Regions from separate parts of the Homo sapiens genome. Here regions 1, 2, 3 and 5 are each linked to region 4. Evidence: promoter capture Hi-C in human tissues and cell types (Jung and others, 2019). All regions are on one chromosome and are shown on one strand. The core of a region is centred on a gene start or on the middle of the fragment in contact, and the rest is flanking DNA. Distances in the headings are between cores, read along the strand shown. Region 1 overlaps LINC00649 (long intergenic non-protein coding RNA 649). Region 2 overlaps LOC105372790 (a long non-coding RNA gene). Region 3 has its middle 14 kb from the start of MRPS6. Region 4 holds the start of RCAN1 (regulator of calcineurin 1). Region 5 overlaps LOC105372790 (a long non-coding RNA gene).

Region 1 (2,700 bases), core at 139-2,638, 660 kb after region 4:
AAAAAATGAGCAAAATACTTGAACAAACACTTCATAAAAGCAGGTATCAAATTGCCACAATACATATGAGAAAGTACACTCTCATTCATCATCCTAGAAATGCAAATCCAAGGTCAGGCACAGTGGCTCACACCTGTAATCCCAGCACTTTGGGAGGCCGAGGTGGGCAGATCACAATCTCAATCAAGAGATCGAGACCATCCTGGCCAACATGGTGAAACCCCATCTCTACTAAAAATACAAAAATTAGCTGGGCATGGTAGCACACACCTGTAGTCCCAGCTACTCAGCAGGCTGAGGCAAGAGAACTGCTTGAACCTGGGAGGCGGAGGTTGCAGTGAGCTGAGATCATGCCACTGCACTCCAACCTGGTGACAGAGTGAGACTCCATCTCAAGAAAAAAAAAAAAGAAAGAAAGAAATGCAAATCCAACCAGAGTGATTAAAATAAGCCTGAGGAAAAGACAATACAAATTGAGGATGTGGAGCAATTAGAATGCTCCTACACTGTTGTCATTGCTGTTGGACTTTTTTTTTTTTTTTTTTTTTTGATACATGGTCTCACTTTGTTGCCTAGGCTGGAGTGCATTGGCGCGATCAAAGCTCACTGCAGCCTCCATTTCCTGGACTCAAGTGATCCTCCTATCACAGCTTCCTGAGTAGCTGGAACTACAGGTGCACGCCACCATGCCCAGCTAATATTTTAATTTTTTGTAGCGATGGGGTCTCACTATATTGCCCAGGCTGGTCTCAAACTTCTGGCCTCAAGCAATCCTCCTGCCTTGGCTTCCCAAAGTGTTGGGATTACAGGCATGAGCAATAGTGCCTGGCCCATATGCTGTTATTTAAAATGAACAGCAACTTTGAAAAACTGTTTAGCAGTATTCTCCAAATCTGAGGTTATACATACCTAAATTCAATAATTTTTCTCTTAAATATTTGTTCAACATAAATACCTTATGTGCAACAAAAACTCACATACCAGAATGTTCTAAGCAGCACTATTCACCAATATTCAAAAACTGAGAGTCACACAAATGTCCTGGATGAACTTTCAAACCCAAGTGCCCTGCTTCCCAAAACCAGCGTGTACACCCCCATCCCCAAGGGATACACCACATCAGTCATGTACTTGAAGCTCTGACTTCCAGTTCACTCTTCATTTGGCCCCTACAGATTTGCTTTACTTTCTTATGAGCTCAGTTTTGCACTGAAGAGGCTGCATGTGACTGTTCATTCAGAACGTCAGGAGGTTTTGCAGCAGAAGTATTACAAGATTACATAGTTCCTGATATGCCTCATCATCTTTCCATGGCCCTGTCTAGCTGTGAAGATTCTTCCTGGCCCTGGTTTTGCAGACTAAAGATAATATTTTGTTGTAAAGCGGAGAGAGCAGAGAGAAAAAAGGAAGATACTTTCACTTAACACCGAAGGGTCGGGGGAGCATGGTTGGGGTAGTGTCTCTCCCCTAGTTCATCTGCTGAGAGGCTGCAGTGAACCTTGTCCACATCCCACTGGAGAACCAATGCCCTGCCTGGCTGGAAATCAACACCCTGGCTGTCCTAAGGGCTCATCTCTGGTTTGATGAGGTTGACAACTATTTCTAGAGGCTCCCATCACCCAGCTGAGCAGCTGTCCACCTCCCTCAGGTCTCTGGGTGGCACTGGGCAGGGCTGGAATCTAGGCTGCCAGGCACCCCTGACTGAGATGTGCTGAGAGGGTCAAGCCTGGAGAATCCCTCCCACCTTCTGCTTTGCCCCTGGCTCCTGTATGGATGCCCTTCAAGGTCACGCCTCTCTCTGATAGAGGACTCAGTTTAATTACCAGGTGCTGCTTGGACTTCTCGTGTCCTAATTTTCAAATAGCCCACAAGGCCCCAGGCCGCATGTAAACAGGCAGGGAAAATAGTAGCTCCTCCTGAGTGCTGTGCATGGCCCCAGAGGCCGGGATGACCAGTTTTCTGCTGACCACTTCTTTGTGGTTGAGTAAAAAGGCCTTCGCATTTCGGGATAGAACTGAGGTTCCTTAGGATCTACTGTCATCTTCAACCTGTGGCTAAAGAACAAGGGCTGGTGAACAGGGAGATGCTCAGGTCATAACAACAAAAACAGGTGACAGTGATGAAGTATCCTACATGCCAGGCACGGTACACAGGGCTTTACATGGGTTAGGTCATTTAATTCTCAAAACAACCCGAAAGATAGAGATATAGACATACATACATATGTATATATGCGTATATATACACACATATATTATAAATAAATATATATTATAAATTAATGTATAATTATATATTATATATAATCCCATTTGTGATTATTATAATCATATAATTATATATACACATATTATAAATAAATATATAATTATATTTTTTATATATATATATAAAATTCCCATTTTTCTGATGAGCAACTGAGACTGCCAGAGGTATGTGACTTGCTCCAAGTGACACAGTTAAGTGACAAACCCAGGACTGAGCCCCAGAAAATCTGGCTCACATCCTTGACCACGGTTCTAGGTGTGATCTTTTGTCGCTGATCCCAGATTCTACGTCACCTCTAGCACATGTCAGGCACTGCCCCTGGCGGACCCTTTCCACCCTTCCTGCTTTGCTGTCTCAGTGGACCCTTCAGTAGGTGTGTCAGCGGGAGGGGTTCACAGAACACCTCTTTGGCGGGATCTCCAAAAGCCCCTC
Region 2 (2,700 bases), core at 26-2,525, 590 kb after region 4:
GCCATAGTCCTAGTTCAGGTCATCATTGTCTTGCTCCTCGACTAGGAAAGAAGCTTCCCCATGGTCTCCCTGTCCCAAGCTGTGTGGAAACTCAGATCTTATCACTTCCATATTAAATACTTCAACTGTCCTTACAACCCTCAGAATAAGGTCCAAGCCCTTGAACTTGGCTTACAAGACCCTTCACCATCTGGCCTTACCTACTTCCCCAGTCTGATCTCTCCATATTCCACCCTCACATGTTAATACTCCAGCCAAACCAAGCCACCTACACTTGGCCTCCTGGTCTTTGCTTATGGTTTTCTGCTCCTGGAATATTATTTCCAGCTCTCCTGGCTGCCCAAATCACACTTACATTTTATATTCATTTATTCCACAAACATATCTTGAGTGCCTGCTATGTGTCATAACCTATCCTAGGCGCAGAGGATGCGGTAGAAAACAAAACAGAAAAATATCTCACTTCATGAGCTTCCACTTTGGTTAAGAGAGACAGACACAAACTATCAGCAAGTGAATACAGGGAGTGCATCAGATAGCGCTAGTGCTTTAAAGAAAAATAAAACAGGAGGGTAAGGGGTTAAGTTTTTAACTAAGCAGTACATGAGAGTCCTCACCGAGGAGATGGCATTTAAGCCTGGCTTGAACATTACTCCCTCCTGGAAGCCTCCTGGAAATTTCCCAAGACCAGGGTAGGCGTCATCTTTATAAACTTCTATGAAGCCTTTATTTACCCATCATAGCACTTACCGCACTTTAAAGGACTTTTGTGTTTGCGTGTGAGTGTCAACTGTAAACTTTGTGAGGACAGAGACTGAGTCTGTTATTTATTGTATATCAACAGCTCCTTGTAGATATATGTTCCTTGAACAAACGGATGCATTGACAGCCTACATTATTTACAAGTTTTATTATACAAAAAATTTATGTAGTATTTATTGTAATGTCCTGTGTTACAAATCACTTTCTCACCCACTGTCTCGTTTGAGAGATGTGGGTCTTATTGTCACCTTTTAACAGACACTCAGAAAAGTTAAGTTTCTTGCCCAGAGTGTCACAATAAAGGCTAAACCCAGCTCAATCACAGCTCTCACATCTTCAGACCCAGAGTGCTTTCTAGAAAAGCCCCCTGCCTTCCTGCATGTTCTAAGAAAACGCAAACCACTAACCCCAGGGCATTAGCCGTCCTCAGCCAATTTTTACTGTTCCTCCCTGAGTTATCATATTCTCATCTCCCCAGAAAACTTCCACCAAATGCTAAAGCCAACATTTAAATCCAAAGGTAAAACCTTCTGGAATTCCTTGATGTAGCCACTGCACAGGCTGGCCTGTGTTCTCATATCAGTTTTCAGAACAATTCTTGCCCTCCTGCAAGTCCACATTTAGCAGATCCACTCAGACAACTACAGAGTGGGGATCAATTGAATTCCTTTCCTAGCTGACACTTTTGAGCTAAGACTGTCTTTTCCATGTGTTAATTTTAAAATGTGGGTTTCATAAAAGCTGCAGGCGGAACAGCAGATGGGGGTCCGTTAGCAATCATTAATATCCTCTATTCGTTGCCTGCCCCCCCAATTGATAAAGTGTCACTCCACTTGGGCAAAAGGGGCCAAAAAGGGAGCGGGGCACAGAAACTCACTGTTCAACAAAAGCCCTCCCATGCAGTGAAGAGCTGGCCCCATCAGAGTGCCTGTGTCTTGCAGGATTTGGAGAAGGGAGCCTCAGCTACCCTCCCTTGAGCGAGGTGAAGTTTGTTGCAGGAGTGATGGGACAGCTCTTGGTAGTTTTCCACTTGCTACTCATGAGTTCTCACCCTGTTTGGCTCTTTGTCACTTGGTCCCATAAAAACACCCACTGCAGGATGCTTGCTCATGCCACCCACCCACCAAATGGCATGTGGCAAAGAGGGTCAGAAGTTCACACACTTCCTCTTTGTTTTCTTGTGTTTCTTTCTGCATAAGCACCTCTCAACAGGCCAAATGGTTGTTGTTGCCACATAGATTTTTGTATTGATGGTTTCCTGCCATCCCCTCATTCTCAAGAGTGGATGGGGGCAGAACAGGGGAGAGTTAACTATTTTGATGAAGAGCAGTTTATAGGATGAATAGGCACAGACAACAAAAGTAAGCCTGGATGCTTTGAAATGAGCTGCTTTGTATTGAAGAGCTTGCTTCTGCCCTGCAATACTTCCTTGCAGTTGAATAGATACTGCAGAGAGTAAACACACTTATCTCTCTCGAGAAAGAAAAAAAATTGTGTTCCCAGGAAGCTGGAAAATTCTCCCATAGGTATAAACATTTAGGAAAAAAGAGATAAGCCGCCTAATTCTAATAACTAGGAATAACCAATTAGGTCATCTGTCCTCACCTCTGTCACTTCTCTCTGAGGCTTGTGGTGTTCAAATTCTGCTACCCTTAACTTTCTAGAAGGAGGGAGAAACACCTCAATTCCTTTCCACTCTTCCGGTTCAGATGGTTCAAACAGCTGGACTTCTTTGACAAAAAAAAAATGACTTTAATCATGATAGAAACATAGTACTTGAAACACAGAACAAACAGAAGAGAAAAACATTTTCTGTGATAGTTTTCTCTTTTGGTTTCTGAAAAGTGAGCAAAATTTTTAATTAAAAAAACCCATAAAATTGCCTTAGGACACTCTCGACACAGATGAGAGAAGACAGTCATTAAAATAAATTACAGA
Region 3 (2,700 bases), core at 199-2,698, 560 kb after region 4:
CATTATAGGGTGCCCACCCCATGCCCAGCTAATTTTTGTATTTTTAGTAGAGACAGGGTTTTGCCATGTTGACCGGGCTGGTCTCAAACTCCTGACCTTGGGCGATCCACCTGCTTCAGCCTCCCAAACTGCTGAGATTACAGGTGTGAGCCACTGTGCGTGGCCTGATGCCATCGATTGTAAAATGCATTCTAATTCCCAAGATGGTAAAATGTAAAACACTGTGCACCTTAGAATCAGTAAAATATGATAGTATTCTGGTTTTGATTCTGCTCCTCATTGATTCTACACTAGTCTCTACATTTTCCCAGGGTTGCAAAGTCCCTTACCCAACTGAGGGGAAGAGAGTTGCTGTCTCCAGTGAACTGAGTCTACTGGTGGCAGATTCAGGACCTTGACTCAGTTACAAATTCAAGTTCTTGGTAGAGAAGTAAACACCAAATCTGGACACAGGTGCTTTGTACTTCCAGAATGATTTTGCCTGAGCAGCCATGAATACTGGAGTTGGAATAGTAGAGTTGGAACTTGTCAGCTGTGTCAAGAGAGTCCCTCTGTGCCCACATCTTTGCCCTGGGATTTAGTTTCATAACAGTGTATCATGTGTTTTCTGGGTGGCTTTCAAATTTCACCTTATGTCAATCTTAATTGAAACCTCTGTCAACTTTTCATCACCTGATTTGAGTGGGCAGATCCTACAAATACATGCACACTTTCACCCATACATACACACACCAGGCTAATCTCTTTGCTGAAAGATTAGGATTCGTTGAATGAGTGCTATTTGCAACACTCTTTATATTTTCGCCAATCTCATTGGCCATCATTTTGTAATTATTACATTAAAAAAGTAAAAACAAGGATGTATCAAAGGACTCAAGAGTGCATCCTAGAATCCAGTAACAGAACGTACATCCAGGGCTCCTGGGGAACTAGACAAGACATCCTTGGTTTCTCTGGGACTACATGTATCTTGTCTCTGCTCTGCTCATGAAGTGTCTGACATCACCCCACCCTCCCCATGCCATCTTGTCTGTTTGGAGACAAGCACTCTCTGCCTCTACATGCCCACCATGGAAGATGGCTAGCCCATAGCCCAGGTATCCTGAGGACACACATGCCAAGTTCAAGTGACAGCAGATACCACCATCTCTGATCAGGAGGAGGAATCTCACTTGACATCCATCTTCAGATCCATCTGAATCCACGAGAGTACAGTGATGGCATACAAATTCTTGCTTCCAAGAGAAGAACTATCCAAGAGAATTGTAGGCAGAGCAGGTCTCACCAAAGGTGGCTAGTTGGCAGCAGTACAGCTTGGTGGTCAAGAGCATGGAGCCAAAGCCAGACCGCCTGTGTCCAATGACTGTGTACCCTTGAACAAGTAACTGAACTCTGTGGTTCAGTTTCCTCATCTGTAACATAATCAGACCTAAGGCATAGGGTCGTGTCCAATATACCACACACAATACACGGAAAGTACAGTGCAGCCTGCAGTGTGGGAAGTGCTTAATAGCGGTTTGCCATTATTGCTACAAAGGCCCAATGCTTTAAAAGAAAAATTGATTCAGATCACCAAGCTCTGCTTGACTCTTATTCCCCAGATGTCCCCTCTTTCCACAGCTGGGGAAACCTGACTCCACTTGAAGGCTCAGTGGCACTCCAGGAGCTGAGAAGAAGCAGATCCTAATGAGCAGAAGGGATGTAAGGAGCTCTAATTTGGCTCTAACACAGTGCCCGGCTCCATCAGTGTTAGCCTGCAGCACATAATGGGTTTGCAGTGCCGTGAGGCTTCAGTAGAATGTAAGCTCCAGAGAACAGGGCCTTGGTCTAATCATGGTAAGGTCCTGGCCCCTGATACAATGCCTGACACAGAGGGTGATGAATAGATATTTGCTGGCAGAATAAGGTAGGAATTTCCTCTAGATCAAGCTTGTCCAACCCATGGCCCATGGGTCGAATGCAGCCCAGGATGGCTTTGAGTGTGGCCCAGGATGTCTCAGTATGGCTTTGAATGCAGTCCAACACAAATTCGTAAACTTTCTTAAAATCTATGAGTTTATTTTGCAATTTTTTAAAAAACTCATCAGCTATTGTTAGTGTTAGCATGCTTTATGTGTGGCCCAAGACAATTCTTCTTTCAGTATGGCCCAGGGAAGCCAAAAGATTGGACACCCCTGCTCTAGATGGTGGGCTGTCCCCACTTAACTGGGGATATCAACCTCTGTGCCCCCTCTGAGGGTGGTACCTGAAGCCTTTGGCTAGGTTGAGTTCCCAGGGAGGGAGATGAGGAAAAAGGGGGTCTAGCTGGAGGCTTGAGGAGCCTCAGCCTTGGAGCCATGGGTTCCATTTGGGACATAGGTCTCTGCCATTGCTGCTCCCCCCACATCCTCTCTCCCTGGAGGTGCCTTCAGCATGATCCCCCTCAGAAGGCCTGAAACACAAACAGCTGGGGAGGAATAGAAGACAGCGGGAATCTTCTAATCTAGAGTAGGGCAGGAAAGGGTGTCCTTCTCCTTTTCTGGGTCCGCAGCTGTGCAAAACAGTAACATTGCAACACCACTGGCATTTTTCTCCCTCCTCAGGTGGGAAATATTTACCCTGCCTAGAGCAGCTACAACACACACTGGTGACCCATCCCTGTGCCCAGGTCCCTATCTTACCACGCCATCCAGTCCCAGTCTCCTTTCCTGTCCTCTTGTT
Region 4 (2,700 bases), core at 162-2,661:
TCTGATTAGTCTTTATAAAGGAGGCAAATCTGTCTCGGTGAAATGCATCTGTCTCAGTGAGCAGAGGGGTGACTTTGAATGGAATGGGAGGCTGGTTGGCTCTAAGCAACTTCCAGCTTTAGTTTTCCTTAGTGATTTTGGGGGCCCAAGATTTCCCTTTCACAGTATGACGGTTCCAATTTCTTCACATCCTCATATCATATTCTATTTTATGAGTTATCTCTAGATGGGTATTATTATTCCTCTTGGGTTTAGCTCCCTGAGGACACAAACTGTCCTAAGACTATGATAATAGTAATCATAGAACCGTGCACATGGCAAGTTCTGAATAAATCTCAGCTGTTGGATATACTTTTTGTTATAATTACTAACACTTCCTAACTAGAGAGTAAGCCTACTCTAAGAAAAAATATAACTGTAATTTCACAACCTCCAAAGAACCCAGTGCATAAACAGCTACCATTTATTAAGCACTGACTGAATTCTTAGTAATATGTCTTCATTTTTTTCAGATGAGGAAACTAAGATTCAGCTTATTTGTACAAGTAGTTAAAAAGCAAAGCTGAAATTCAGACCCAAGTTCTCACTGTATCATACTGTCCAAAAAAGAATTCTATTTTTCAGGAAGAGACATGTCTGCTCACTTGAGGTCCTCTTATTTTTCCGCTATTCCCCAAAGGAAAGGGGTGATCTCTTAATTCTTTCGTTATGTCCTATTGTACATAGCATATAATGGTAATTCAGAAAAATTACTTCTAATTACATAAATTTTCACAATGGTATAGTGACTAATACGCTGAAATAGAAAAGTAAGGCATTGTTATCATGGTCTAGTTCAGTCTTTATTGCGACTATATCTGATAATATACGGTAAGCATCTAACCACTTGCCAGGGGCCACAGAGCCACAGGGAGACTATGTCTCGCTTAAATTCCCAAAAGTGGGCCCCTGTGCTTCAAAACGTCCCCGCATGGGAACCACAAAAACGTTGCCTCCCCAGTTATCACCCCAAGGGCCCAAGAGCCGAGGACTCTGCCCGGCGTCCTTCAGCTGGCACCAGCTGTCAGAAAAGCGGAACTGGGGACGAGGACTTTGCCCCTAACCAACATGGCCGCCCTGAGGCTTCGGGCTTCGGGCGGCAGAAGGAAGGTCACGTGAAGAGAATTCCGTTCCTTTATTGGCCCCGTCTCCTGGAAGGGCGGGGTACAATAACCCAACCGGCGCCGGCCTTAAAGGGGCCACCGTTGGATCTGCCGGTGGCCGGCCCTAGGGGCTGGGGGGGCGGTCGCCGCGCCGGGCTTCTGCCCCTCCCGCGCGGAACGGTGACGGGCGGGGCTGGCGCTGGGAGGCCGTGTCGCTGGGAGACTGCTGACAGCCCGCCGCCTGCCGCCGCGCGATTCCGAGGGGGTTAACGGCGGAGCCGCCGGCCGGGCGCGGACCGGAGCGCGTGAGGCTCCGGCGCGCAAGCCCGGAGCAGCCCGCTGGGGCGCACAGGGTCGCGCGGGCGCGGGGATGGAGGACGGCGTGGCCGGTCCCCAGCTCGGGGCCGCGGCGGAGGCGGCGGAGGCGGCCGAGGCGCGAGCGCGGCCCGGGGTGACGCTGCGGCCCTTCGCGCCCCTCTCGGGGGCGGCCGAGGCGGACGAGGGCGGCGGCGACTGGAGCTTCATTGACTGCGAGATGGAGGAGGTGGACCTGCAGGACCTGCCCAGCGCCACCATCGCCTGTCACCTGGACCCGCGCGTGTTCGTGGACGGCCTGTGCCGGGTGAGGACCGCGCCGGGCGGGCCGTCGGGGCGGAGGGCGGACACTTGTTGCCCGAGGAGGCGGCGCGGGTCGCAGCGCCCAGTCCCGGCCGCGCGCGGGGCGGGGAGGCAGCGACGTCCCCCGGGCTGCTCGGCCGCGGACCCGTCAGGGCTGGGGCGTGGGGACGGCGCCCCGAGGGTCCCGGTCCCCTAGCACCCCCGGGGCGCGCGGAGCTCACTGCAGAGTCCCACAGGCTCGCCCCGGCCCCCGTGTGCGCCCAGGCTGGTGCGACTAGGGGGGTGAATTCGCTCCCCAAGGTGGGGCAGCGCCGCCGCCCCCTGCGCTCTCGCCATCGCCCCGCATTTACTCGCTGGAGGAGGGGGTCACCTCATTCCTAGGGAGGAGGAAACAGACATTGAGCGGCGACGTGACTCAGTGTTCATAAATAGGACGACGTCCCTGCATTCCCAATCTGCACTATTGGAAGAAAAGCCAATGTTTGGGTGAGGATCCGTGGTTGCTCATTAGCCAGCGGCTGGCCAGTTTTGGTGGAATTGTGTTGGGGGGAAGGGGACCATCTTTCAGACCTTTAGGATATTTAGTCAAGAACCTTGCCCCCTTGTGTGAAGGTGTGGCTTGCCGCCATCGGGGACACCCAGTACATGGGGAGTCGACTCCTTCCCCCGCCTCCCCCCACCCCCGCAAAATCCACACAATTTAGACACTTTGGAGGGTGAGGGGCAGGTATGAGTAATCAATAATGGTGGTGGGGAGGAAGAATTTATTTCAAATCTGCAGTTATTGTGCAGAATAAAATGTGGACAACGTGGGCGTCACAGAATGAAACCGGTCTTTGAGAGATGCCCCATTAGGAGAGCAGCTGTCAAAAAAAGCAGTGCTTTCAGCGCTTGGCTGTGGGTCCACAAATGCTGTCAATGAACTATAGTTGAAGGCTGC
Region 5 (2,700 bases), core at 40-2,539, 620 kb after region 4:
AATAAGTTATGGGGTACACAGTCATTTTGGCATGAGAAAGACCACTTAGAAGGGAGGTCTTCCTTTGGAAGCAGTGACATTGAAGCTGTGAGATGAATGAAAAGAAGCAGCCAGCTACATGAAGAGCTGGGGAAGAGTGTGTTGGCAGAAGGAATAGTGACTGGGATGCCTGACACAGAGACTCACACCTGTAATCCCAGCATTTTGGGAGGCCGAGGCAGGTGGATCACCTGAGATCAGGAGTTTGAGACCAGCCTGACTAACATGGTGAAACCCCGTCTCTACCAAAAGTACAAAAATTAGCTGGGCATAGTGGCACACGCCTGTTGTCCCAGCTACTCGGGAGGCTGAGGCAGAAGAATCGCCTGAACCCTGGAAGCGGAGGTTCCAGTGAGTTGAGATCCTCCACTGCACTCCAGCCTGGGCGACAGAGCGAGACTCCACCTCAAAAAGAAAAAAAAAAAGAAAAGCAGAATAGTAACTGGGAAGGCCCTGAGGCAAGAGTGGGCTTGTTGCATGGGGAGAGGCCAGTGTGGCTGGAGCAGGGTGACAAGGGACAGTGGGGAAGGATGACATTGCAGGGTCATTAGGGACTAGATAGGATGGGGACGAGTATAGATTTTACTCCAAGCATCAAGCGCCTCCTTGGAGCGCTCCAAGCAGGGGAGTAAAACCCCTTAGGTTTTCTAAGGTCTGCCCTGGCCGCAGCTGGGGATGGGTGGTGGAAGGGACTGGAAGGAAAGCAGAGAGTCATAGTGGTTGCCCCAAAGATCTCAATCTAGAAAAGAAACAAAATACCTAGAACTCCAGTCAGGGTGACATACATTACAACAGAGCTTTAAACTAACGTCCAAGATAGCCACCAGTTGAGAAAAAGTTATTCCAGCTGAGGAGACAAGAGGGGACTCTTGAGGGTGCCGCTCAGGCCTCGGCTTAGGCTTCAGGTACGACCATCTTAAATTTGGTCTGCAATTAGTTTACGTTTTTCAGTCACCACATGAGGTTACTCTGATGCCAAATCACCATTCTTAATCTGCCCATCCCCACAGAGGACACAGTTAATATCTTCTAGAGCCTTATACTCTGGCCACAGGGCACAGAGCCAAGCTTTCAATAGGAGCAATGTATTAGTTTCCATGTGGGTAGCAGCAGCAGGAAGGCATCTGATTTCTTTGACTTGAGGAGTTCAGAAGATGCTGGAAACCACAGAGAGGGAGGCCTTATTTCCTGGTTAGATACTAAGAGGTGTGTCCCTGGGTGGAACCCACCTTGGCAAACCTGTGAAGCTCTCCTGGTTTCAGGGATCAGAGCAGTTCAGAACTGCAAAGGATCTCACCTGTCATCCAGTCTAGCATCTCCCAAGTCCAACAGTGGTCCTGAAACAGGAAGTGATGGAAATGCAATCTCCAGCCTTCCCAGGTCTCATGAGCCAGAATCTGCATTTTTCACAAGATCTCCAAGTGATGTGCATGCATATTGTAGTTTGAGAAGCACAACTCTGAAGATTCTCACCTTCAGTGGATAACAGATTCACCAGCATAGATTTAAAAAAAAAATACAAAACAAAACACGATAAGAGATGCCTGAGCCCTATTCTAGGGATTCGGTTTTAATTGGTCTGGGGTGAGCCTAGGCAGTTTTATGTAATTGTTTTTTTTTTAAGATCCCTGATCATGCAGGGACATTAATCAGAGAATCTCTTATGTAATCCAAAGTTCTTATTTTTACTGATATGAAGCTCTGGCTCAATAAATTGAAAAGATTCGCATCTTATTCCAATGCAGGCATCTTGGCAAAAGTGGGCCCAAGATTCTGCATTTCTAGCAAGCTCCCAGGTGAGGCCAATGCTGGTCCTCAAACCATACTTGGAATAGCAGGTGTAAGAGTTAATTTTACGTGTTGACATGACTGGGCCATGGGGCGCCCAGATATTTGGTCAAACACCATTCTGGGTGTGAGGTTGGTTTTGGATAAGATTAACATTTAGATCCATAGACTTTGAGTAGATTGCCCTCCATTATGTGGGTGGGTATCCTCCAAATAGTTGAAGGTCTGAATAGAAAGCAGTAAGACTGGCCTCACCTGAGCAAGAGAGGATTCTCCAGCAGATGGCCTTTGGACTTCATCTGCAATGTTGGCACCTCCTGGTTCTCCTGCAGACTGCCTTTGAACTAGAACTATAACTAAAGCATTGCTTCTCCTGGGTTTCCAGACTGCCAGCCTACCCTGCAGATTTTTGACTTGTCAGCTTCCATAATCTCATGAGCCAATTTCATATAATAAATCTCTTTCTATAAATATATACACATTCTATTTGTTCTGTTTCTCTGGAGAAGCCTGACTAATACAACAGGCTTACAAAGGTTGCTCTGCTGAGACTCCAATTTTTGCCAAGATGGAAAATTCACATAAACCATTATACGTCTTGCCCAGAGTCAACCTAATTGAGGTACAAAACACAAAATTCAGGAACTAACGGAAAAACTGTGAGAATACTGAAAGAGAAACTGTTGCATGTGTATGGTGGTAAGAGTGGTAAGGGTTGCAGCCTGGGATGAGCCAGCTGGTGCTGCTCTAGGAGGAGACAGTAGAAAAAGCAACTTGAGTTCCACTCTTCTCTTCCATCATTGCCTTGGGACAATCACTATCTTTCCTCGGCCTTTAGAAATTGGCAGTTGTGGCCCAGACTGCTGACACAAG

Evidence for each region. The method cuts DNA at HindIII sites, captures the fragments that hold promoters and counts their contacts. A contact is called where the count stands out against the background at its distance.
Region 1: a fragment that was not itself captured here is called in contact with the fragment with the promoter of RCAN1 in region 4 in 2 of the 25 tissues and cell types used here (dorsolateral prefrontal cortex and lymphoblastoid cells).
Region 2: a fragment that was not itself captured here is called in contact with the fragment with the promoter of RCAN1 in region 4 in 1 of the 25 tissues and cell types used here (lymphoblastoid cells).
Region 3: a contact is called between a fragment that was not itself captured here and the fragment with the promoter of RCAN1 in region 4, in 2 of the 25 tissues and cell types used here (lymphoblastoid cells and spleen).
Region 5: a fragment that was not itself captured here is called in contact with the fragment with the promoter of RCAN1 in region 4 in 1 of the 25 tissues and cell types used here (lymphoblastoid cells).

What each region holds. Positions count from the first base shown.
Region 1 is chr21:33,950,478-33,953,177 of GRCh38, reverse strand. The region is part of intron 2 of LINC00649 (long intergenic non-protein coding RNA 649); the gene reads right to left. Among named protein-coding and RNA genes, the nearest start is that of LINC00649, 21 kb to the right of the region's middle. The HindIII fragment of the contact is 6,850 bases long and covers 1-2,700 here.
Region 2 is chr21:34,022,277-34,024,976 of GRCh38, reverse strand. The region is part of intron 2 of LOC105372790 (a long non-coding RNA gene); the gene reads right to left. Among named protein-coding and RNA genes, the nearest start is that of MRPS6, 50 kb to the left of the region's middle. The HindIII fragment of the contact is 5,384 bases long and covers 1-2,700 here.
Region 3 is chr21:34,058,272-34,060,971 of GRCh38, reverse strand. No RefSeq gene overlaps it. Among named protein-coding and RNA genes, the nearest start is that of MRPS6, 14 kb to the left of the region's middle. The HindIII fragment of the contact is 6,965 bases long and covers 1-2,700 here.
Region 4 is chr21:34,613,824-34,616,523 of GRCh38, reverse strand. It overlaps RCAN1 (regulator of calcineurin 1), which reads left to right and starts at 1,411. Exons shown (of 4, transcript NM_004414.7): 1 at 1,411-1,764. The coding sequence starts at 1,513. RefSeq lists silencers at 1,177-1,606, 1,797-1,896. The HindIII fragment of the contact is 10,572 bases long and covers 1-2,700 here.
Region 5 is chr21:33,997,059-33,999,758 of GRCh38, reverse strand. All of the region lies in intron 2 of LOC105372790 (a long non-coding RNA gene), which reads right to left. Among named protein-coding and RNA genes, the nearest start is that of LINC00649, 67 kb to the right of the region's middle. The HindIII fragment of the contact is 3,518 bases long and covers 1-2,700 here.